Regions from separate parts of the Homo sapiens genome. Here region 2 is linked to region 1. Evidence: promoter capture Hi-C in human tissues and cell types (Jung and others, 2019). All regions are on one chromosome and are shown on one strand. The core of a region is centred on a gene start or on the middle of the fragment in contact, and the rest is flanking DNA. Distances in the headings are between cores, read along the strand shown.

Evidence for each region. Contacts are between HindIII fragments. The study calls those that stand out against the background at their distance.
Region 2: a contact is called between the fragment with the promoter of TOR1B here and the fragment with the promoter of CRAT in region 1, in 6 of the 25 tissues and cell types used here (H1 embryonic stem cells, aorta, dorsolateral prefrontal cortex and 3 more).

What each region holds. Positions count from the first base shown.
Region 1 is chr9:129,107,844-129,112,360 of GRCh38, reverse strand. CRAT (carnitine O-acetyltransferase) reads left to right here and starts at 1,568. Exons shown (of 14, transcript NM_000755.5): 1 at 1,568-1,878; 2 at 4,284-4,517. The coding sequence starts at 1,852. It overlaps PTPA (protein phosphatase 2 phosphatase activator), which reads right to left and starts at 946. Exons shown (of 10, transcript NM_178000.3): 1 at 730-946. The coding sequence starts at 760. RefSeq lists silencers at 633-682, 1,373-1,812 and enhancers at 210-750, 683-962. The HindIII fragment of the contact is 22,449 bases long and covers 1-4,517 here.
Region 2 is chr9:129,800,937-129,805,111 of GRCh38, reverse strand. TOR1B (torsin family 1 member B) reads right to left here and starts at 1,928. Exons shown (of 5, transcript NM_014506.3): 1 at 1,701-1,928; 2 at 774-1,039. The coding sequence starts at 1,899. RefSeq lists silencers at 1,539-1,658, 1,719-1,848. The HindIII fragment of the contact is 20,911 bases long and covers 1-4,175 here.

The sequences.
Region 1 (4,517 bases), core at 319-2,818:
AAGGTAGGTCGGCAAACAGCCTTCTCCTTCTGCACAAAAAGGGTCTCTAAGATCCTTCCGTAGCACCTCCATCCCAGTTATTTAAGATGAACTAAAAAGAGGCTACAAGGTAAATAAGAGTTACCGAAGGAGATGCCGGAGAGACTAACCTCCTTGCACAACCAGCCTTTTAAAATTAGGGATTTAGACACCACGGGCAGTTTCCCTCAATAAATTCTCAGGCACTGGAACCAGAGAGTAGGAGGATGAGGGGTGAGCAGGACGCGGAGGCCGAAACTGGAGGCGAGGCGGGCGCAGGCCCACGGAGCACCACCCCATCCCCTAAGCAGCGACTAATAAAGACGGCAGCCTCCGGAATCACTTTCGCCCCCCTCCCTGGCAGCTTCCCCACCGAGTCAGCAGCTTACTTAAGCACGCGCTGCCCAGAGATGCAAAAGGCCCCCTTATGACCACGGCGCTGCCCACCCAGCATTCGGGCAGCCTGGACTCCCACAAAACCCAGAGTTGCGCCCCAATCACCACCCCTTTGCAGCCCCTGGTTCCCTCCCCAGCGGCGCCCCACCACCCACCTCTCCCCTAAGGCCATTCAACTCAGTCCCTCCTCGGGGCCCCTCAGCTTTTGCCCCTCCAGTTCCTCCGTGTCATGACTCTCGCCCTCCTGAGCCTCCCACACCTGGCACCGCCCCCACCCTACCCGACCCCGGCCCGGCCTGGCCCCGCCGGCCTTACCTGGCGGCGGCTGCCGCTCGCCCTCAGCCATCTTGCTCCGGCCAGGAGCCGACCCGGATGCTTGCAGTCCCCTCTCGCCTTTCACTCTTGCACCCACCCTTCCTCTCCCCGGCTCCACCAAAGGCTCCGAGCTTCCTGAAGACAAGTGAGCGCCGGCCGGCTATAACCGAAAACCGAGAGTTAAAGTCACCACAGCGAAGACGGCCGCCATGTCGGTGCGGGGCGCTCAGGGAGCAAGCCTATTAACGGCCGGCGCGCGGCGGACGCGCGGAACCGGGCGACGGCCATGTCAGTGCGGGGCGCGCGGGGCGCATGCGCGCCAACGGCCGCCAAGCGCTAGGACCGCTCACGGCCGCCCGAACGTCGGGCGCCGCGACTGCCACGATTGTGCGGGGCGTCAAGTTTGGGTTGTGCTCAGCCATGTTTTTCCGGGACAGTCTCCTGTCCCGGAGTACCACCTGTCATCTTTGTGGGTGGTACTGACCCTAACCCAAGGAATATTAGAGGACATTCCCCGGTCAACATGGTTGTGTTTTCCTATCACTCTAAGAGTTAGGCTCAAGGACACCAGACGGAGTTGGAAAGGTGCACACCACTACCTCCAACAGCTTAGAAGACATGTGGGGACAGGGGAGAGACAGCTGGACGGTGACCTCCTCCTTCCTCCTCCACAGGTCTCAATGACTCGCCCTCGGCCCTGCCCCTCTGTCCCCGCCCGCCGTGGTCCCGCCCCCGACTCGCAGCCAGCCTACTGCGACCCGCTACCGGGCGACGCCCCGCCCCTCCGTCCCCGCCCCTCCTGTCCCTCCTCAAGGAGACTCCGCCCCATCGATGCCCCGTCCCCGCCCCACAGCCAACCTCCCGGGCACCGTTGCCCGCCCGGGGCCCGCTACCGGCCCAGGCCCCGCCTCGCGAGTCCTCCTCCCCGGGTGCCTTCCCGCAGCCCGCTCGGCCCAGAGGGTGGGCGCGGGGCTGCCTCTACCGGCTGGCGGCTGTAACTCAGCGACCTTGGCCCGAAGGCTCTAGCAAGGACCCACCGACCCCAGCCGCGGCGGCGGCGGCGCGGACTTTGCCCGGTGTGTGGGGCGGAGCGGACTGCGTGTCCGCGGACGGGCAGCGAAGATGTTAGCCTTCGCTGCCAGGACCGTGGTGAGTGCGGCGGATCCCGGGCCTGAGGGCCCTGGACGGCCTGGGCGGGCCGTGCGGTTGCGTCCGGGAACGGAGACCGCGTCCTGCGGCCGCTGTTCGACCCGGCCTCCAGCTGATGGGGTGGGGTCAGGCGGGCGTCCCAGGTTTGGCAGAGCAGGAGATTGGGGCGCAAGGTCAGAAGCGGGATTAAACCCACGTCCTGGAGCATTCAGTTCCAACGACCCAGGAAAGACAAGGGGGACCCCGGCTTCAGTTAGCACCCCCACCCTTAGACCCAGAGACAGGCCGGTAGGGGAGAGAGACCAGGAGCATCCAGACCCTAGCTCACTCTCCCAGTTATTCTCCGATTGACACACCCGTCGCACGCTTAGGCCAGAGCCACTCCTCCGACCCTGTCCAGTTGGTCACACTCCTTTGGTTTATCAGACGGTCCCTGGGGAATTGTGTGTGGCCAGAGAAACACGCGGAGGCATCAAGCTAGAAAGGCCTCAGAACTGGCAGGTGGCAGCCCCATGGTCTCCCTCCCCTCCAGCCCCCTTCCCCACCCTGGCTGTATCCTTCCCTCCAGCCCCCTTCCCCACCCTGGCTATATCCTCCCCTCTAGCCCCCTTCCCCACCCTGGCTATATCTACCCCTCAGTCCTCCCCGGTGAGCAGCCCGGATGCTAGCCTAATTTCAGTCCCTTCCGTCCCTGATCCAAGCATATGTTGCTGGTGTCTCACTCTGTCTCAGACACACACTACGGGGCCAGAGGGCGGAGGGTGCATCCAGGCTCAGGCCTAGAGGCTCTTTTAGGTGTTGCAACACCCTGAGCCTCCACCGCACCCTTGTCACTGTCTCCCAAGCTGCATCCATCCCACAAACAGCCTCTAGATCATCCTCCAGGACCATCCGACTGGACTGGTTACCTTCCTGCAGGGAAACTGAGGCAAGGAGGGACTTGCCCAGAGTCCCCTGGACCTGCTCATTCAAATCCAGCCCAATCCCAGTGTCCTTTGGTTTATTTTTCATACCAAAAGTCCTCCGCTCTTGGACCCTAGCTGAATGAGCCACAGCTCAGGAAAAAATGAGTGTTCGTAGAGGGATGGCTCAGATGGGTCCCAGGAGTCCTGGAGAGAAACAGGAAATAGGCAGGGCTTCTGGCTGTCCCATCCACTGATGGCCTTTTCCTGGTGTCTGCTCCCTTGCACCAACCCTAATTTCAGGACCGATCCCAGGGCTGTGGTGTAACCTCAGCGGCCAGGCAGTCTCTGTCCTCCAGCCAAGTTTTCCCTCATCAAAACGATCTTCGCAGATTCTGACAGGTGGATTTTTTATTACCTTTTGTCCTGACTCCCTGGCACTGAGCCCATGCAGAGAAGAAAGGAAAGAACTTTCCAGGTTCCCTTCTACTGGAATGCCCCCCCACTAGCCCTCTCACCTGCTCCCCATTCCTCTACTTCTGGGAGCTCGGGAGGGTGGAGCAGCTTCTAGAGTCCAGGAGCTTCCCCTGCCACTGCCACAACCCCCGATTCCACCACAGCCATCGCCACTGCCACCTGCCTCCCGCTGAATCTTGGCTCTTGTCTTCTCTTTCCAGCCCAGGCAAGTGGCTGCCTCTGGCTAGGTTCTGCTCACTCACTTTGTAGCACAGTTAGGCTTAGAGATCCAGCCAAGGCAGACAGACAGGGCCCAGAACCTCAGTCCTGCCATGGAGGAGGACGGGCAGCAGAGAGAGAAGGTATGGAACAGAGCTCCTGCCACTCGCCTGCCCACTGCAAGAGCAGCCTCGGGCCCTCCTGTCTCTGCCCACTCCAGGGCCTCCTGGACTTTCTCTTTCTCTCTCTGCCGCCTCTCACCCTCCATGCCAGGCCACCCGGCTCTCTCGCCACAGCACTGCCCTCACCCCACCCCTGCCCCATCTCAAAGGCAGGAGGAAGCCCAAGGCCCCTCACCCGAAGGTGCTGCCATTGTCTGGCTCTCTGTGATTCTCTCTTCTTCCCTTCTGTTTCTCAACCTGGAAAGGGTGGGAGAAAAGGACGTGGGGACCTCCAAGAGGGACAGTCACCACTCTGCTGGCTGGCTCCTCTTCCAGGGTGAGAAAGGAGGGGCCTGTGCAACCCAACAGGTGGGCGGTCCCCCTCACCTCTGCCACCCCAAAGGTGCCGTTCATCCTGACTTGGTTCCCCTGAGCCTTGCTAAGAACCATGGCCACACCCCACCCTCCCCCATCCCTACCTGCATCTCCAGGCCCCAGAGAGGCGGGGACACCTAGAGCTCTAGGGCTGGGAGGCCAGGGCCAGCCCCACCCAAGAGGCCGTCTCTGCCCCCAGGGATGGGCACTTAAGTGCCCAGGACTACAGCTTTGGGGCTGCCAGGGCTCCAGAGCCGGGGAGGGAATGAACAGGATGTTCTGCTACCTGCAGGTGAAGCCTCTGGGCTTCCTGAAGCCCTTCTCCTTGATGAAGGCTTCCAGCCGCTTCAAGGCACACCAGGATGCACTGCCACGGCTGCCCGTGCCCCCTCTCCAGCAGTCCCTGGACCACTACCTGAAGGCGCTGCAGCCCATCGTGAGTGAGGAGGAGTGGGCCCACACCAAGCAGCTGGTGGATGAGTTTCAGGCCTCAGGAGGTGTAGGGGAGCGCCTGCAGAAGGGGCTG
Region 2 (4,175 bases), core at 679-3,178, 690 kb before region 1:
GGCTGGAGTGCAGTGGCGCGATCTCGGCTCAGTGCAAGCTCCGCCTCCCGGGTTCAGGCCATTCTCCTGCCTCAGCCTCCCGAGTAGCTGGGACAACAGGTGCCCGCCACCATCCCCGGCTAATTTTTTGTATTTTTAGTAGAGACGGGGTCTCACCGTGTTAGCCAGGATGGTCTCCATCTCCTGACCTCGTGATCCGCCCCCCTCGGCCTCCGAAAGTGCTGGGATTACAGGCGTGAGCCACTGTGCCAGGCCTTTTTTTTTTTTTTTTTTTTGAGACCGAGTACGGTGGCGCGATCTCAGCTCACTGCAACCTCTGCCACCCAGGTTCAAGCGATTCTCCTGCCTCAGCCTCCCAAGTAGCTGGGATTACAGGTGCGTGCCACCGTGCTCAGGTAATTTTGGTACTTTTAGGTAGAGATGGGGTTTCACCATGTTGGCCAGGCTGGTCTCAAACTCCTGGCCTCAAATGATCCGCCCGCCTCGGCTTCCCCAAAATGCTGGGATTACAGGCGTGAGCCACGGCGCCAGGCCCTTGGCTCCCCATCTTTTAATGGAAATAACATCCCCTACCCCACTGGACTGTTTTGGAACCAAGTAAGAGAAATGTTGTAGGAGAGCTTTGTAACTACCTGGACTAAGTGTGCCTTAACTCAGTGGAGCCGGGGGCTACAGCAACACAAAGGAAAGAGAAGCAGAGGCCAGAGTTAGTGAGCAGGTCACCCGGACCAGTCCGACTGGCCTGCAGACGAGATAATAGCGGGTTCTCTTGCCTGGTACAGTTTTATCTTCTGCTCATGAGGGAAGTGCAGAGTCGATACAAACAGGTGGACAAAGTTACTCTTCAGACCTTTTGGGTGAAGATTTTCAGCCACAATTTGACTGACAAAATTCTTGCCTGTGCCAGCCCAGCCGTGTAAGGAAAGGGTCAGTGGTTTCTTGGGATTTTTGTTGTTCCTGAAGCCAGTCAGCGCCTTGAAAATCACTTCCGTGGCTAGATGCTGTCCAAACAGCTTCTCCTCCAAATCCAGCTTGAGAGCTGCAAGAACAGCCCCAGAACAAAGAGAGAAACAGACCTTAAAAATGCATCAGCAACGCAGCACTTTCTTAGCTGGCCAAAGCAAGAAGCACAGATTATCCAGGGACACAGCAGGGTGTCTGCCACACCCTAGGGCCGAGGCAGTCAAACGATGCCACTTTCAAGATTATGTGGAGGTCCTTAACGCTTCGGGGTCTGATAAGGAAGCTAAATGTTCATTCATTCAGAGATGAACCATCGCTTGACTGAGCGCTTGCTAATCCCAGCCACCCTTGCTGACCTGCAGGAAAACCAGGGGCCAAATGTGGGCTTTCTGGGCGACGCAGCACGTCTGAAAACTACTTAATAGGGTTGGCAGGGCGCAGAAGGGCCGCCCGCCTACTTTCCGTTTCTTCCACCTGTGATCCCAAGGAACGGGAGCTTTAGAAAGGCGCTGGGGCAGCCCCACGATCTGGAGACTGTTTGCGAAGGCACCGCTTCTGCGTTCCCGCGAACGGTTCCGGGGCCGCCCCATCCGCTCCCCGCCCACCCCAGCTGGGACCACCGCCGTCTAGATGCCACGGGCCCGGTCCGTGCCAGGCGCCCACGAGGCCGTCCCTCCGCGCCCCCGCGCCCCCGCGCCCCCCGCAGCGCCGACCCACAGCTCGCGCGCGCGCCGTACCCGAAGCGTTGAGCGGCCGCTCCTCGCGGCAGCACTCGGCGAAGCGGCAGTAGATGTCATTGTAGGACAGGTAGCCGGTGATGGCCGACGCGGCCCCGATGGCTAGGCCCACGGTGATGGGCTCGAACGCCGCCACCACTCGGGCCGCCAGCAGCAGCGCCAGCGCCGCCGCGCCCCGGAGCCACCCAGCCCGCAACATCCCGCTCCTCGAAGCCCGCAGAAGCCACTGAGCCAGGCGCCCCGCGGCCAAGCGGCAGGACGGACTTCCTCTCGTGCGTCACTTCCGCCCCGCAGACCCGCCCACTCCCTTGGGGGCGGCCATGTTGGTGAGGGGCGGAGAGGAGGGCGGTGCCATCGTTCTTGGGAGTGGTCCGAAGGTGTAGGAGACTGTTTTGTTTCCCTTTTCTTTTAAAAAAATTTTTTCGGGCCGGGCGCGGTGGCTCACGCCTGTAATCCCAGGACTTTGGGAGGCCGAGCCGAGATCACGCCATTGCACTCCAGCCTGGGCAACAAGAGTGAAAAAATATCTAAAAAAAAAAAAAAAAATTTTTTTTTTTTGGCCGGGCGCCGTGGCTCACGCCTGTAATCCCAGCACTTTGGGAAGCTGAAGCGGGCGGATCACCTGATGTCAGGAGTTCGAGACCAGCCTGCTCAACGTGGCGAAACCCCGTCTCTACTAAAAATACAAAAAATTAGATGGGTGTGGTGGCGGGCGCCTGTAATCCCAGCTACTCGGGAGGTTGAGGCAGGAGAATCTCTTGAACCCAGGAGGCGGAGGTTGCAGTTAGCCGAGATCGTGCCACTGCACTCCAGCCTGGGCGACAAGAGCGAAACTGTCTCAAAAAAAAAAAAAAAGGCTGGCCGGGCGCGGCGGCTCACGCCTGTAATCCCAGCACTTTGGGAGGCCGAGGCAGGCGGATCACGAGGTCAGGAGATCAAGACCATCCTGGCTAACACAGTGAAATCCCATCACTACGAAAAATAGAAAAAATCAGCCGGGCATGGTGGCGGGCGCCTGTAGTCCCAGCTACTCGGGAGGCTGAGGCAGGAGAATGGCGTGAACCTGGGAGGCGGAGCTTGCAGTGAGCCGAGATCGTGCCACTGCACTCCAGCCTGGACGACAGAGCGAGACTCCGTCTCAAAAAAAACAAAAAAAAGCCAAAAAAAATTTTTTTAAACTTTCTTATATTTTTTTCTTATCTGATATGTATATTGGGGACAGGGTCTGGCTCTGTCGCCCCGGCTGGAGCGCAGTGGCAGGATCTCGGCTCGCTGCAAACTCTTCCTCCCAGGTTCAAGCGATTCTCCCATCTCAGCTGCTGGAGTAGCTGGGATTATAGGTGCCCGCCAACACGCCCAGCCAACTTTTGTGTTTTTAGTAGAGACGGGGTTTCGCCATGTGGCCCAAGCTGGTCTCGAACTCCTGACCTCAAGCGATCTACCTGCCTCCGTCTTCCAAAGCCTGGGGTTACAGGAGTGGGCTTATGGCTGGATTTGTTTTCTTCAGAGCTTCTCGGAGCCCTCAAGCTTTGCTTTGTTATCCCTCCCTTCACTTCGCCGGAGGTATAATGTGCGTTTCTTGGGTCGGCCCACCCGCCTGCCTTCTTCCTGAAACAGTTGCGAACTCTCCGTGCTGCGCCCTAGACTGAGCACTGGGGATGCAGCGGCCCCAAGACAGACCTGCCCAGGCTTCCACACTGAAATCCCGAGGTCCATTCTTTCATTCAGCACGCTAGGTGGCAGGCCCCTTGCTGGATGCCAGGAACGACAGCAGAGGAGGGGACGGAGTTGGCCCCTGCCCTCTCAGAGCTGACGGTCTATGGGGGAGGCCGACAAAGGGGTGAGACTCAATGCTGAGTGGGCAGAGAAGTATCGGACAGTGGTACAGGGAAGGCTTTTGTCTAAGCTGGGCACTGAGGGAGTTAGGCCAGGCAAAAAATGAGTAGAGTGTTTTAGGCAGAAAACAACAGTCAGTTTGGAGAACTGAAAGGATTCCACATGGCGGAAGGTGGTGAGAGATAGGGATGAAGAATCAGGCAGAGACTGGAAGGTGAAGTCCTTGCGAATGTTGTAAGGAGTTTGGCCTCTGTTCTGGGGGGTAATAGGGAGCCACAGAGGGTTTTACACAGGAAGCAACATGGTCAGATCAGAGATCATTCTGGCTGCTGGGTTCACAAGAAATGGAAGGCAGAGAGCCAGTGAAGAGGCTGTTGCCGTGGTCCAGGTAACTAGTCAGGGAGACAGATGAGCAAGCAGGCAGCTTATGTCCAGGGTGGGCCAAGGCTGTAATGCAGGATGCACAGAGGCCTGTGGGTGGGGAGGGATCTTCTCCTCCCTATCTCAGTTGCGATCTAAAGAATGAATGGAAGGGCCAGGTGCACTGGCTCATGCCTGTAATCCCAGGACTTTGGGAGGCCGAGGCAGGCAGGTCACCTGAGGTCAGGAGTTCGAGACCAGCCTGGCCAACATGGTGAA